5 separate regions of the Homo sapiens genome follow, and regions 1, 2, 4 and 5 are each linked to region 3. The links are contacts of gene promoters, found by promoter capture Hi-C in blood cells and fetal thymus (Javierre and others, 2016). All regions are on one chromosome and are shown on one strand. Each heading gives the region's core, a stretch centred on a gene start or on the middle of the fragment in contact. The rest is flanking DNA. Distances are from core to core; before and after follow the strand shown.

Region 1 (2,700 bases), core at 124-2,623, 350 kb after region 3:
ATCATTTGAACCTAGGAGGCAGAGGTTGCAGTGAGGCGAGATTGTGCCACTGCACTCCAGCCTGGGCAACAGAGCAAGAATCAGTCTTAAAAAAAAAAAAAAAAAAAAAAAAAAAAAGGAATGACTGGGCCGGGCGTGGTGGATCACACCTGTAATCCCAGCACTTTGGGAGGCTGAGGTGGGAGGATCACCTGAGGTCAGGAGTTCCAGACAAGCCTGACCAACATGGTGAAACCCTGTCTCTACTAAAAATACTAAAATTAGCTGGGCATGAACATGCATGCCTGTAATCCCAGCTACTTGGGAGGCTGAGGCATGAGAATAGCTTGAACCCAGGGGGCAGAGGTTGCAGTGAGCCGAGATCGCATCATTGCACTCTAGCCTGGGCAACAGAGCGAGACTCCGTCTCAATTTAAAAAAAAAAAGGAGAATGTCTGAAGGGATCTGGCCGTCCCTTGCAATGACCTCTGGCCCCAGAAAATCCACAAACTGGACTCCAAGGCTGCCACAGATAATGAAAAGAGCAAGGCCGGGTGTGGTGGCTCACGCCTGTAATCCCAGCACTTTGGGAGGCCGAGGCAGGCAGATCACAAGGTCAGGAAATCGAGACCATCCTGGCTAACACGGTGAAACCCCATCTCTACTAAAAATACAAAAAATTAGCCGGGCGTGGTGGCGAGCACCTGTAGTCCCAGCTACTTGGGAGGCTGAGGCAGGAAAATGGCGTGAACCTGGGAGGTGGAGCTTGCAGTGAGCCGAGATTGCGCCACTGTACTCCAGCCTTGGCGACAGAGTGAGACTGTGTCTCAAAAAAAAAAAAAAAGAAAAAAAGAAAAGAGCAAAGCCCTCATTATTTGGCTCAGCTGAATCATAATAGCTTTGAGCATCAGTTTTTAAAAAAAATTTTTTTAGAGACAGGGTCTTGCCCTGTCACTCAGGCTAGAGTGCCATGGCGTGATCATAGCTTACTGCAGCCTCAAACTCAGGCTCAAGTGATCCTCCTGCCTCAGCCTCCCAAGTAGCTGAGACTACAGGCATGCACCACCATGTCTGGCTAATTTTTAAATTTTTTGTAGAGATAAGTCCTTGCTATGTTGCCCAGGCTGGTCTCGAGCTCCCGGGCTCAAGTGATCCTCCTGCCTTGGCCTCCCAAAGTGCTGGGATTATAGGCATGAGCCAGCGTGCCCAGCCTGAGCATCAGGTTTTAGATCCAGGAAATGAACACGATGATACCCAAGGTGCAGTTCCTATCTGATAAGATTGCAAAGATCCAATTAGATAATAATGTAAAAGAAAGAGCTATTTAATCCGTAAAATACAAATGGAAAGTGCTATTATTAGCATTAAAAGACAAAGTGGGGGCTGGGCACGGTGGCTCACGCCTGTAATCCCAGCACTTTGGGAGGTCAAGGTAGGCAGATCATCTGAGGTTGGGAGTTCAAGACCAGGCTGACCAACATGGAGAAACCCCATCTCTACTAATAATAATACAAATAATAATACAAAATTAGCCGGGCATGGTGGCACATGCCTGTAATCCCAGCTACTCGGGAGGCTGAGGCATGAGAATCGCTTGAACCTGGGAGGTGGAGGTTGAGTGAGCTGAGATGGTGCCACTGCACTCCAGCCAGGGCGACAAGAGCAAAACTCCATCTCAAAAAAAAAAAAAAGACAAAGTGGGTTGACTCTTCCTTACTTTTGCTTTCTCCTGCCAAACTTCTTTGGCTAGCGTCTTTACGGTCTTCAGCTGCTCCTGCAGTTCAGGAGGTATGGTCCTTTTGACTATGGAAAGCAGAAGCCTTATGATCAGAGGGGTTAGATCTCTAGTGGGCTCCCAATCTCCATTTCCAGCCCCTGTAACACTGAAGCTACCCTAGAGGACAGCAGGACCTATTACTTTATCCTGTGTCTCCTGGTGACTGGGAAAGGGAGGTGGGAAGAAGGGAGAGAGAGCTGTCCTTAGCCCATGAAACATCCACCTAATGCCTGACATCCTAAAGGGCTTTGGGACAACTGACTCCCGAATTCCAACCACTGCAAAAAATCTTAATTACTCTCTGGGCTTGGAGTTGGGAACAGGCAAATGTTAAGTTTTGTTTTGTTTGAGACAGGGTCTTGCTCTGTCACCCAGGCTGGAGTGCAGTGATCCATCACAGCTCACTGCAACCTCTGCCTCCCTGGCTCCAACAATCTTCCCACCTCAGCTTCCCAAGTAGCTGGGACTACAGGTGTGTGCCACCACGCCTGGCTAATTTTTTTTTTGTTTTTTTTGGTAGAGATAGAGTTTTGCCACATTGCCTAGGCTGGTCTCGAACTCGGCCTCAAGCTATCCACCCAGCTCTGCTTCCCAAGGTGCTGGGATTACAGGTGTGAGCCATTGCTCCCAGTCAAAATGTTAAGTTTAATTCTTCAACATTCTCTCCCGCCCACCTCCCAATGCTACTGCTCTCTATAACCAGACACTTTCCCCCACTGCTGTGCAGAGAGCCTGACAAAGCCACAAGAACCCGCTCCACTCCTCTCCTGGGGCTTAGTTCTCTCCTTTGCCCACCCATTTTTTTGGACTCTGAAGGCTGTGGGACATGCTCTGAATGACATGCTGTTTTCAGGGACTCAGGGAGATGTGTAGCAGCCAGGAGTTGAGGCCAGGGGAAGAAAAGGATGAAACCAACTGAAAACAGAGACAATGGTTTCTCCTCT
Region 2 (2,700 bases), core at 118-2,617, 410 kb after region 3:
GGATCACGAGGTCAGGAGATTGAGACCAACCTGGCTAACACAGTGAAACCCGTCTCTACTAAAAATACAAAAAATTAGCTGTGCGAGGTGGCGGGGGCCTGTAGTCCCAGCTACTCGGAAGGCTGAGGCAGGAGAATGGCGTGAACCCTGGGGGCGTAGCCTGCAGTGAGCCGAGATCGCGCCACTGCACTCCAGCCTGGGCGACAGCGAGACTCCGTCTCAAAACAAAAAACAAAAAACAAAAAACTAGCCAGGTGTGGTGTCGGGCATCTGTGATCCCAGCTACTTTCGAGGCTGAGGCAGGAGAATCGCTTGAACTTGGGACGTGGAGGTTGCAGTAAGCCGAGATGGCACCACTGCACTCCAGCCTGGGTGACACAAGACTGTCTCAAAATAAATAAAACAGATAAGATAAAACAAAATCTTACTGAGCGACAAGTAAAACAGGTAAGGGAAGTATTTATGAATATGTATCATTTATAGTAATTCAAAATCTTTCGGGAATTTGCCAGGAAAGAATCTAAAACAAACAAACAAAAAAAACCCTCACTGACTTTTAAAATGTGCCCTGCTCCCCTCTGCTCTCCCTCAAGGTCAGGTAGGGTAAATCTGAACCACTAGATACACACAGAAGCTTCGTTTAAAGTCAGTGTTTTCGTTGGCCTCAGAAAGAAAGACAAACAATCAGGGGTTAGAAATAGAAACTAGGTAGTAGACTGCAAAAGGATTGATTTGTTTTTTTAACATTCTTCCACTCTCCAAAACTCCAACTATTAAAAAAAAAAACAAGCAGAGCTGAAAAAAAAATGACTAAAGTTTTCCCTTTCTTCTACATTTCCCCCCAGAAGTTTAAGATATATCCCTGCAATCATTTGTCAACCCTAAAAAAGTAACGAAGTAACTCTATGAAAACTGTTTAAAATGTGAAAATGGCTTTAAATATTAAAAGACGAGCTATTCATTTTATGTCTTAGATTTCTAACAAGTGTATGTAGAAAGGGCATATAAGGCTCCTCCTTTATATCAGAGCTCTGGGATTCTCCAAAAGAGCCAACTAGAAAAGAGGCCATTTCACCGGGCGCGGTGGCTGAAGCCTGTAATCCCAGCACTTTGGGAGGCCGAGGCGGGCGGATCACGAGGTCAGAAGATCGAAACCATCCTGGCTAACACGGTGAAACCCAGTCTCTACTAAAAATACAAAAAATGAGCCGGGTGTGGTGGCGGGTGCCTGTAGTCCCAGCTACTTGGGAGGCTGGGGCAGGACAATGGCGTGAACCCGGGAGGCGGAGCTTGCAGTGAGCCGAGATCTCGCCACTGCACTCCAGCCTGGGTGACAGAGCGAGACTCCGTCTCAAAAAAAAAAAAAAAAAAAAAAAGAAAAGAAAAAGAAAAAGAAAAGAGGCCACTTAGTAAACAACTATTCAGAGGGCCACTATGAGCCCCTACTCTGCTAGAACCAGATACTACTTCTACATTATCCCGATCATACAATATTCTCAACCATGCCCATTTCACAGATGAGGTTCAGGGAAATCAAGTCTCTTGCCCACTGACACAGAGCTAGTAAGTGGCAAGGCTGGGAGGGCATCTCAGAGCTGTCAGACCCCAAAGGCGACTTAAGACCAGGGGCTTGGTTGGGTTAAAGACACAAATGACTGATCTTATCCCAAGCTGATTTACAAAGCAGGGTCAGGCCTGTCATTTCTACCACCAGCTCCGGCCCATCTGCCTCCCTGGAATTGCCTTCTTCGCACTGCCAGTCCCCACACCTTTGCTCTGCGACCGCACCTGCCGCGTCGGATCCCCCAACTCACAACCACGCCCGCGGGTCTCACTGCAGTGAGACTTGAGAGTGGCGGCGGTCAGATTCCCAGGTCAACTCCAGCCGTGGGAAAGGAAGCCAAGCCCTGAGCCCCTTTCCCCAAGACACGCACTCCGGGGCTCCAGAAAGCTCGGCCCGCCCCGGGGTGTGGGACTGCGGAGACGAAAGGCAGGCAGGCCGCGGACCCAGTCACGGGGCGGGGGGCTGAGGTCACCGAGAGTCCGCCCCAAGCCTCCCAGCTGCAAAACCGGGGAGCGGGGGGCGGTATCCGTCACCTCCAAGCTTTGTCCGGCTGGGAAGGCCCGCGCCTCCCGCCCCAGGTGCAGGAGGTGGGGCGGGTGGAGGGGAGCGGGTCCCTCCGGGCGCGAAGGAGAGCTAGGCGCCGCCGCCCCCGGCCCGGCCCTCCCACCGCCCCCTTACTCTGTGATGCGCTTGGCCAGCTCCGTGCAGGCGGCCGTGGAGTTGGCCGAGAAGACTCGGTAGCCGGTGCGAGCGGCGTTCATGGCCGGCGGGGGAACGGGGCGGGCGCGCGGGACGCGGAAAGCCGAGGACGCGGAGGGCGGGGGCAACAGCAGCAGCTTCTTGGGCATCGTCCGGCCCGCGGCGCGGTTACGACCGGCCCCGCGCGGGGCTGCACTCTGAGTGCTTCCGACTGCGAGACCCCGGTTTGGGTGGGGAAGGCGCTGAGAAACTCGGCGCAAGCGGGGAGAGCTCCGAGGTCCGTGCCCTTGCGCACCCCACACCACTGACTACAGCGGCCGAGCCTTCGCAGCGCCCGGCGCCGCCGCCTCAGAGCCAGAGGCAAGGCCACCGCCCCCTCCGGGCATCCGAAGAGCGTCGGCTAGAGCGCCCTCAGGCCGCCATCTCGGATGAGGGCA
Region 3 (2,700 bases), core at 132-2,631:
GCTGGGATTACAGGTGTGAGCCACCACGTCCAGCAACACGATTTTCACTGACAGTGGAAATATTTCCCTTTACATAGGCAGTAAATCTGACCCATTGAGAACATTTTCCTCGGAATTAGCTGTCTCCCTCCCCCTCCTCCACTTTACCAAAACCCACCTACAGGATGTCCTGGAAGAAAGGAGTCAGAGGGGTCCTCTTTATGTCCCAAGTATTGGCCTGTCCTGTTATTGGAATGCAAGGGTTATCTGGGCTTACCTACAGAGCCCACCCTGAATACATGTGTTTTCTTTTTTTTCTTTTTTTAGACGGAGTCTTGCTCTGTTGCCCAGGATGGAGTGCAGTGGTGCGATCTTGGCTCACCACAACCTCAGCCTCCCGGGTTCAAGCGAATCTCCTGCCTCAGCCTCCCGAGTAGCTGGGAATACAGGCACATGCCACCATGCCCGGTTAATTTTTGTATTTTTAGTAGAGACGGGGTTTCACTGTTGGCCAGGAGGTCTCGAACTCCTGACCTCGTGATCTGCCCGTCTCGGCCTCCCAAAGTGCTAGGATTACAGGTGTGAGCCACCACGCCTGGCCTTCTTTCTTTTTTTTTTTTCCAGACAGGGTCTCGCTCTGTTGCCCAGGCTGGAGTGCAGTGGCACGATCACAGCTCTCATAGCTTACTGCAGCCTCGACCTCCTTGGGCTCAGGCGATCCTCCAATGTCAGCCTCCCTAGCAGCTGGGACCACAGGCACACGCCACCATGTGCGGCAAATTTTAAAATTTTTTTTGTAGAGACGGGGGTCTCCCTATGTTGCCCAGGGTCGTCCCAGACGCCTGGCCTCAAGTGATCCTCCCGCCTTGGCCTCCCAAAGTGTCGGGATTACAGGCGTGAGCCACCGTGCCCGGCCTTGTTTCTTTTTCTCTGCAATGGCGACTTCACGACCTACAAGTCCAAATGTGTCCCATAACACATCAAGGAACTTCTGGCATCTCCTATCGATCCTGTACGGGCTTCTCAGACTATGGGGATTTTCTAGGCTTGGTTTGCCAAGGCCAAAGGGCTACAGAGTAACCCCGTCCCCACATGTATTCAGCCGACTCCATGCCAGGCGTTTTACAGATCCCGAGACCACCCCTAAGCAAGACCCCTAGCCGGAGTCGCCCCTCCGTCCCGAGACTCCGCGCCCCTCAATGCGTCACCCTTCTGAGCGCCCGGCCTATCTGGCCCCGGAGCGCAGCCTGTAACGCTCTCAGCCCCGGAAGCCTCCTGTTACGCGCCGTGCCCCCGGAGGTGCGGCCGCTGGGACCAGCGCCGGCCCTGGCTCCATTCGGGTCGCCCAGCCCGGCCAGGACTGGCCTCCCGCTTCCAGCCGCTGCCGGCACCCTCAGCCGTCTGGCCTCCCGCGGAAAGGCGGGCGCGAGGCATCCTGGGAGTCGCAGTCGGCGGTCGACTCACCCGCCCTCACAGAGGAGGTGGGGACGCCATGAAGAACTACAGCTCCCAGGGAGCCGCGCGCGGCAGTTGGCGGGGCCGGGCTTCTGCCGGCGGCGGGCACGTTGCTAGGAGCTGCCCCAACGCCTCTCCGGGAAGAGGGCGCCAGGCTCAAAGGCCCTCTTGGGAACTGCCGGGAAGCTTAAAAGTTCCTCCTGCCCACTTCTGAGGGCTGACACGTGGCCGACGCGGAGGCGTGAGAAATGTGTTGATATTGGGAGGTTGACGGGTGAATCCACAAATTCACCGGTGTTTATTCCACACCCCAAAGCTTGAGGGAAGTGACTGACCTGTTTAATGATCCAATCAAAGCTGTATAGCCAGAATGAAACCCAATACTGTCGCCCCACAAAAAGATTAAGTCACATTTTTTCTAGTATGTGCTAATTATGAATTTTATTAAGGTTTATTCAATGTCACAGAGGAAAGAACGGTTTGTAGTTTTGCTTACCCGCAGTGCTGGCAGGTCACAGCTGTCCAACCATGATCCATTCACATGCTCTGGCCCCGTGCCCCTCGTCCTCCCACCCCTACCCCACAGGACACCATTAAGCCAGGGCTGGGTAACAACATATGCTCAATGCATCTTCTCAGGTGAGAACCAAACTCGAGCCACAACAGCAAAGGGGGAAAAAGGTAGCAAAGTAATTATGTGCTCCCAAGGCAGTCATTTAGTTGAATCCATAACTGGAAATAAAAAGGCATTTATGAAGTGTAGTCCGCAGTCTGAATGTGGAAGGTGGAAGATCACACATTTACTAAGAAACACTCAAAACATATTTTGGTTCAGAATTCTAAAAAATCCCGAATTTTCCATGATCTTCCCAAGACAACCAATGACCCACTTAAATTTAAGGCAAAAACACCCTTGAATCTAGGAATGTGCACATATGCAACAGCTAACATCTGGTAACTCTAATAATGTTCCTTATATGTTTCTGTGTTTACTATCATGAACCATAGGAAGAAGTACTGGAAAATTTAGTAAGTGTGGACAGTTAAAAACACTGGCCCGGCACGGTGGCTCACGCCTGTAATCCCAGCACTTTGGGAGGCCGAGGTGGGTGGATCACGAGGTCAGGAGTTCAAGACCAGCCTGGCCAACTTGGTGAAACCCCTGTCTCTACTAAAAATACAAAAAAACTAGACAGGCATGGTGGCAGGCGCTGTAATCCCAGCTTCTCAGGAGGCTGAGGCAGAGAATTGCTTGAACCCGGGAGG
Region 4 (2,700 bases), core at 109-2,608, 260 kb after region 3:
GGAGACATGTATTATAAGAATGCCTTAAGTGAAACTCTTTAAAGCCCTAAACCATTTTAAAAGTATGAATATTCATCCTCTAGTTCTTTTACTGTCAGGTTGCTGAAAAGCAGGCCACTTCCATACTGAATCTCATACCATTTCGAATCAACTGTTTCTAAAGGTGAATTACTGCATGTTGGCACCAAGAGGACCGAGCTCCCTGACTCTCCTCCTCCCCATGCTTACTCTGGTTTTCTGTCTTTCTCCGCAAGCCCCCAGACACTTCCTGGCACACATCCCAACCCCAGCGAGCAGACCCTACCTTTCCTGTAGTTCACTAAAAAATTAAAACCATTATTTTGTGAACTCCCTTAATTTTCCTACTTCTAAATATTCTTCTAAACCTATTTCCTTCCTCTACTTAGAAGTATTTCCACCTCTATTTTTAAAGAAAATTAAAATACTTTTCATTTAAAAATGAAAACACGTTCACTGGAAAAAATTCAAACAACATAGAAGAATATGAAGAGCCGGGCACAGTGGCTCACACCTGTAATCCCAGCACTTTGGGAGGCTGAGGCAGGAGGATTGTTTGAGCCCAAGAGTTCAAGACCAGCCTTGGCAACATAGTGAGACCCTAGTCTCTACAAAAAAAAAAAAAAAAAGAGAAAAAGAAAAAATTTTAAATTAGCTGTGCATGGTGTCATGTATCTGTAGTCCCAGCTACCAGGAAGGCTGAGGCAGGAGGACTGCTTGAGCCCAGGAGTTCCAGGTTACAGTGAGCTATGATTGCACCACTGCACTCCAGCTTGGGTGACAGAACAAGCTTATTTCTAAAAAAAAAATAAAGAAAATTTTAGAAAATATGAATTAAGAAGTGAATACCCCCCTTCTTGATATATCCCAAGAGTTACCATTGTTAACAGTTCAAAATGCATTGTAATAGTATATTTGTGTAGCTATAAATATATGTACATAATGCACACACATACATATATTATTTTTATCCGAAATGAAATCAGACTCTACATTATACACTGCAACTTGCTTTATTCAGTAAGTCATGTGGTTGTGGACATATTGCCATCTCAGTGGACGCAGATCTATCTAATTTTTGCTGAATAACAGTTCATGGCATAGGCACATTATAATTTATTTAACCATTCCACTATAATGGCCATTAGATATTTTCTAATTTTGCACTACTACAAGTAATGCTACAATATACATTGTAAATAGGAATCATTTCACACTCTTCAAAATATTTCTGTAGGAGAGATTCGGAGAGGTGAAACAGTTGGGCCAAAGGGTACGCACAGCTCAAAATTTAATCAATATTTCCAGGCTAAAGGACAAAAAAAAATTGTAGTAAAATTATAAAGGAAGGAAGAAGGAAAGAAGATAGCATGCAAAAGGCAAATAACCCAATCTCAGTTTCTCTCTCTCTCTCTCTCACACACACACACACACACACACACACACACACACACACACACGTGCATGAGAAAGACACCCGTTCCCACCATGGGCTTTAGGCCTGTAGGGCAGTTAAGTGCCAGGTCCTTGTGATGTGACCTATTAGGCCAGTTACTCCAAGTCCAAGGCACAAATAAATCTCCAAACATAACACGTGCACAGCATCTGGGGTAAGTGGTGGCCTCTCACAGAGGCTGTTCCTTGGAGTGTCCTTTGCCTCAACTCACACTGCTGCAATTCTCTAATCTGCACTGCATTCATTTTATTTTCTGTTTTTTAGACACATTTTAGTCTGATCACACATGGTCCAAGAACACACAAGTCATAAATCAAATGTAATCAGATGTTAAAGATGGGTCTTCAAAGATTACAGCAATGATGCCACACTTGCCTGTGAGCTCTCTGACATAAAATCACGTCCACACCTCATGTGTGGACCACATCATTCAGCAAAGCTTCCTTAACTGTGAGCTATTAGAGCGCTACTATTTTTTTTTTCAGGCTCTGAATAGTTCTAGGGATCTCACCAGGGGTTGGAGGAAGCAGCTCAGCCTTGGCATAGTACCAAAAAGTGGCCAATCGAGGCTTCAAACAAGTCACAACAATGATCATCAGCCCTGGGGCCTTCTCTGCAAGGTTATAAATTGGTCCATGGTTCTAGGGTAGAAAGTCTGCACCATGTTTATTTGCAATGCTGTTAATCCTATTCAGTTATTTCATGTATTTTTTCTTAAAATAAATTACTTCCTAACTGGTCTTCTTATTTTCTGTCTCTCTGATTCATTACCTATACTGTGAATTAATTTATAGAATTAATTTTCTAAAATGCAAATTAGATTGTAATAGTTATCTTTTTTTTTGAGAGAGGGTCTCGTCCAGCCCAGGCTGGAGTGCAGTGGCATGATCTCCGCTCGCTGCAACCTCCGCCTTCTGGGTTCAAGCGATTCTTATGCCTCAGCCTCCCAAGCGGCTGGGATTACAGGCATGCACCACCATGCCTGGCTAATTTTTGTATTTTTAGTAGAGACAGGGTTTCGCCATGTTGGCCAGGCTGGTCTCAAACTCCTGGCCTCAAGCAATCCACCCACCTCAGTCTCCCAAAATGCTGCGACTACAGGCGTCAGCCATCAGGTCCCGCCATCATTTTTTGAGTCCTTAAAATATTCCTGCAAGGTAATTTTATAGATGGGGAAATTGAGACTCACTGATTGGCCATCGTCTTAACCAACATGACAAAGTCAG
Region 5 (2,700 bases), core at 105-2,604, 390 kb after region 3:
ATAAGATCTCTTTTGAGGACAATGGGGTGTTTGCTGGTGGTTCCTCACTTCTTCCTGGATATACTGAAGCAGGAAAGGTGAGGCTCTAAGGTTGTCCACAGGAAAGCTGAAAAAGCCTTGTATTTCCTTTTGATGAAGATCCATAGTGATAATGTGAGTTAAACCTGAAATTTTAAAACAAAAAATTACAAAGTTCACCCCTACAGGTAAATGGCTACAGTGGACCTAAACTAGATGCTCAACTCCTGCTTCCTACCAGCAGACTGAAGACGGGGTACTGTGATTAAGCACTGCAGTCACAGGCTTGATTGTTAACCTTAATAAAGCCTTAATGTAGAGAAGGCTACAACCTTCCACATGGACAAAGAACTAAAGCTAAGAAAGTGGGAATTATTGACTTTTGGCTTGGTCCAGAAAATTGAGAAAAGAATAATGTGGCAGAAGCAAAAATATGAATATGGAATTAATACCGAAGAGATGGAAAAAACAGTAAGGCCTTGATTACAGAATCTTAAAAGAAAGGATAAAGAACTGTAGCGAAGGCAAAAAGTAGCAAGAACACAAACGCAAAGTAATATACATATTAGAAGAAAAGAAACTCATATAACACAAAGATATTGAAGCTTAGAATAATTTCTGTATGTAACAAAGAATGTTTCAAGTATTCTTATAGAAAAACAATGAAGAGATACTCTTATAATCAAGAGTACTGAAGAGGAAAAGGTACATATATATAAACACATTGCAAATGGTCAAAGGTCACAGCAAAACTTCCAGGGTGTAGAACCAGTATTACTTGTTCTTTCCAGAAACACTATAGTTTTTTGGAGAGGATGAAATTCACATACAGTTGACCATCTGGATCTATGGGTTCCACGTGTGGATTCAACGAAACACAGACTGAAAAGGTAGTTAGGCCTACAATGGTTGTGTCTGTACTGAGCAGGTATGAAACTTTTTTCTCATCATTATTCCCTAAACAAGACAGCATAACAACAATTTATATAGTGTTTATATGGTATTAGGTATTTATAAATAATCTACAGATGACTGTGTTGGTTATATGCAAATACTATGGCATTTTATATGGAAGACTTGAGTATCTTTGGGTTTTTGTATCTGCTGAGGAGCCGGGGAAGCGGGAGATGGGTTCCTGGAACCAATCCTATAAGGACATTGAGGGAGGACCATACATTTCTTTCCGAGGACCCAAATATACGTTAAAGTTTTAGAACAGACATCAGATGAATAGAAACCCAATTGTAAAATATTACATTGATTTACAGGCCAGAAAGCGTGCCCCCGCCACACAAGGAGAATAAAGCAATGAAAATGAGCCACTATGTAGAAAGGCAAGGGTGGGGGAGAGGGAGTAAAAGAAAATCCAGCTTGAATACTATGAACAAAAATGGAATTTAGCTAACAAAGCAGATATAGAAATCTAGACCTGAAGATCAAAAGATCACATAAGAATGCCAAGACTGCCAGCTAAGAATTTAGCGATGACAAGATGAAATAGAAAATATGTGACAGATGACAGAGAAGAGAAGACACTAAAGCAATGGTATTCTAAAGTAGGACAAAGCGAATAAGGGAAAAAAAAGAATTTCTAACCGAGCTCACATATCCTTAGCCAAAACTGTTCAAAAGGAAACAAACACTCAGATCCCAGATTGGATATCTGAGGTATGAGCTAAGTCCAACTAGGAAAGAGCCCTAAAGGATCATGCTGGAACCCCAGGGCCCCCGCGCACACTCACCTGCTTTCGCCAGCATGGATGCTAGCAGCTTGCACACAATGGAACCCCTCTTCCTCATCTTGCTCTGCTTGCTGTAGGGGAAGTAGGGGATGACCCCAATAATGTTCCTGGCACAGGCAGTCTTCAGTGCGTAAGCCATGATGAGCAACTCCATCACAGCTGTATTCACATCTCTGAAACAGTCAAAGTTTGTATTTGGGGATTAATTCCATGTATCAACCCTAGAAAAGATCTTGACTTTATCAACTTAACATGGGCTGCCCAGATGGGTGTTGTGGGAATTTTACCATCACACTAGCTTACAATGGCACCTCATGAAGGCAGGGGAAGCTTTCTGACTTTTTGTAGCTGAGTAAGCCCTAGCTTTCATCTGAGGTTACTCCTATTCACAGCACAGTTAACCCACCCTCACATTTGCCTGGGTCTCCTGTGTCATACCCCGTTACTGCAGTGACATCTGAAGCAACTGCTGGTGACCAGAGTTACCCAACACCTGCTGGCAGCCTCCCAGGGATTTGGGCTTAGGCCAGCTTGAATGCCAAGGGAAACCCAACTGCCCTTCCATTTAGCTGCCATTAACAGAAAGATTTGGTCTCTTTCCATTGAGTGTGGGGAGGTCTTGGAATATAATTTTTTTTTTTTTTTTTTGAGACGGAGTCTCGCTGTCGCCCAGGTTGGAGTGCAGTGGCGCGATCTCAGCTCACTGCAGGCTCCGCCCCCCGAGGTTCACGCCATTCTCCTGCCTCAGCCTCCCGAGTAGCTGGGACTACAGGCGCCCGCCACCTCGCCCGGCTAATTTTTTGTATTTTTAGTAGAGACGGGGTTTCACCATGTTAGCCAGGATGGTCTTCATCTCCTGACCTTTTGAGATGAAGTCTCACTCTGTCGCCCAGGCTGGACTGCAGTGGTGTGATCTCAGTTCACTGCAACCTCCGCCTCC

What was found. The method cuts DNA at HindIII sites, captures the fragments that hold promoters and counts their contacts. A CHiCAGO score of 5 or more calls a contact.
Region 1: a fragment that was not itself captured here is called in contact with the fragment with the promoter of FBF1 in region 3 in 7 of 17 cell types (endothelial precursors, M0 macrophages, naive CD8 T cells and 4 more); the score reaches 6.3 in endothelial precursors.
Region 2: a fragment that was not itself captured here is called in contact with the fragment with the promoter of FBF1 in region 3 in 1 of 17 cell types (M0 macrophages); the score reaches 5.2 in M0 macrophages.
Region 4: a contact is called between a fragment that was not itself captured here and the fragment with the promoter of FBF1 in region 3, in 1 of 17 cell types (endothelial precursors). The highest score is 5.9, in endothelial precursors.
Region 5: a contact is called between a fragment that was not itself captured here and the fragment with the promoter of FBF1 in region 3, in 4 of 17 cell types (M2 macrophages, activated CD4 T cells, total CD4 T cells and 1 more). The highest score is 5.8, in M2 macrophages.

What each region holds. Positions count from the first base shown.
Region 1 is chr17:76,288,296-76,290,995 of GRCh38, forward strand. It overlaps QRICH2 (glutamine rich 2), which reads right to left. Exons shown (of 19, transcript NM_001388453.1): 5 at 1,697-1,782. Among named protein-coding and RNA genes, the nearest start is that of QRICH2, 19 kb to the right of the region's middle. The HindIII fragment of the contact is 4,189 bases long and covers 1-2,700 here.
Region 2 is chr17:76,351,292-76,353,991 of GRCh38, forward strand. It overlaps PRPSAP1 (phosphoribosyl pyrophosphate synthetase associated protein 1), which reads right to left and starts at 2,625. Exons shown (of 10, transcript NM_002766.3): 1 at 2,243-2,625. The coding sequence starts at 2,412. RefSeq lists enhancers at 1-142, 1,682-1,741, 2,591-2,700 and a silencer at 2,102-2,421. The HindIII fragment of the contact is 1,470 bases long and covers 633-2,102 here.
Region 3 is chr17:75,939,661-75,942,360 of GRCh38, forward strand. It overlaps FBF1 (Fas binding factor 1), which reads right to left and starts at 1,382. Exons shown (of 30, transcript NM_001319193.2): 1 at 1,188-1,382. It overlaps ACOX1 (acyl-CoA oxidase 1), which reads right to left. Exons shown (of 14, transcript NM_004035.7): 14 at 1,847-2,700. RefSeq lists a silencer at 1,151-1,420 and an enhancer at 1,531-1,600. The HindIII fragment of the contact is 5,734 bases long and covers 1-1,618 here.
Region 4 is chr17:76,200,694-76,203,393 of GRCh38, forward strand. The region is part of intron 2 of RNF157 (ring finger protein 157); the gene reads right to left. It also overlaps the pseudogene ATP5MGP6. Among named protein-coding and RNA genes, the nearest start is that of RNF157, 38 kb to the right of the region's middle. The HindIII fragment of the contact is 1,105 bases long and covers 807-1,911 here.
Region 5 is chr17:76,330,503-76,333,202 of GRCh38, forward strand. It overlaps PRPSAP1 (phosphoribosyl pyrophosphate synthetase associated protein 1), which reads right to left. Exons shown (of 10, transcript NM_002766.3): 4 at 1,761-1,933; 5 at 49-164. Among named protein-coding and RNA genes, the nearest start is that of PRPSAP1, 22 kb to the right of the region's middle. The HindIII fragment of the contact is 1,467 bases long and covers 622-2,088 here.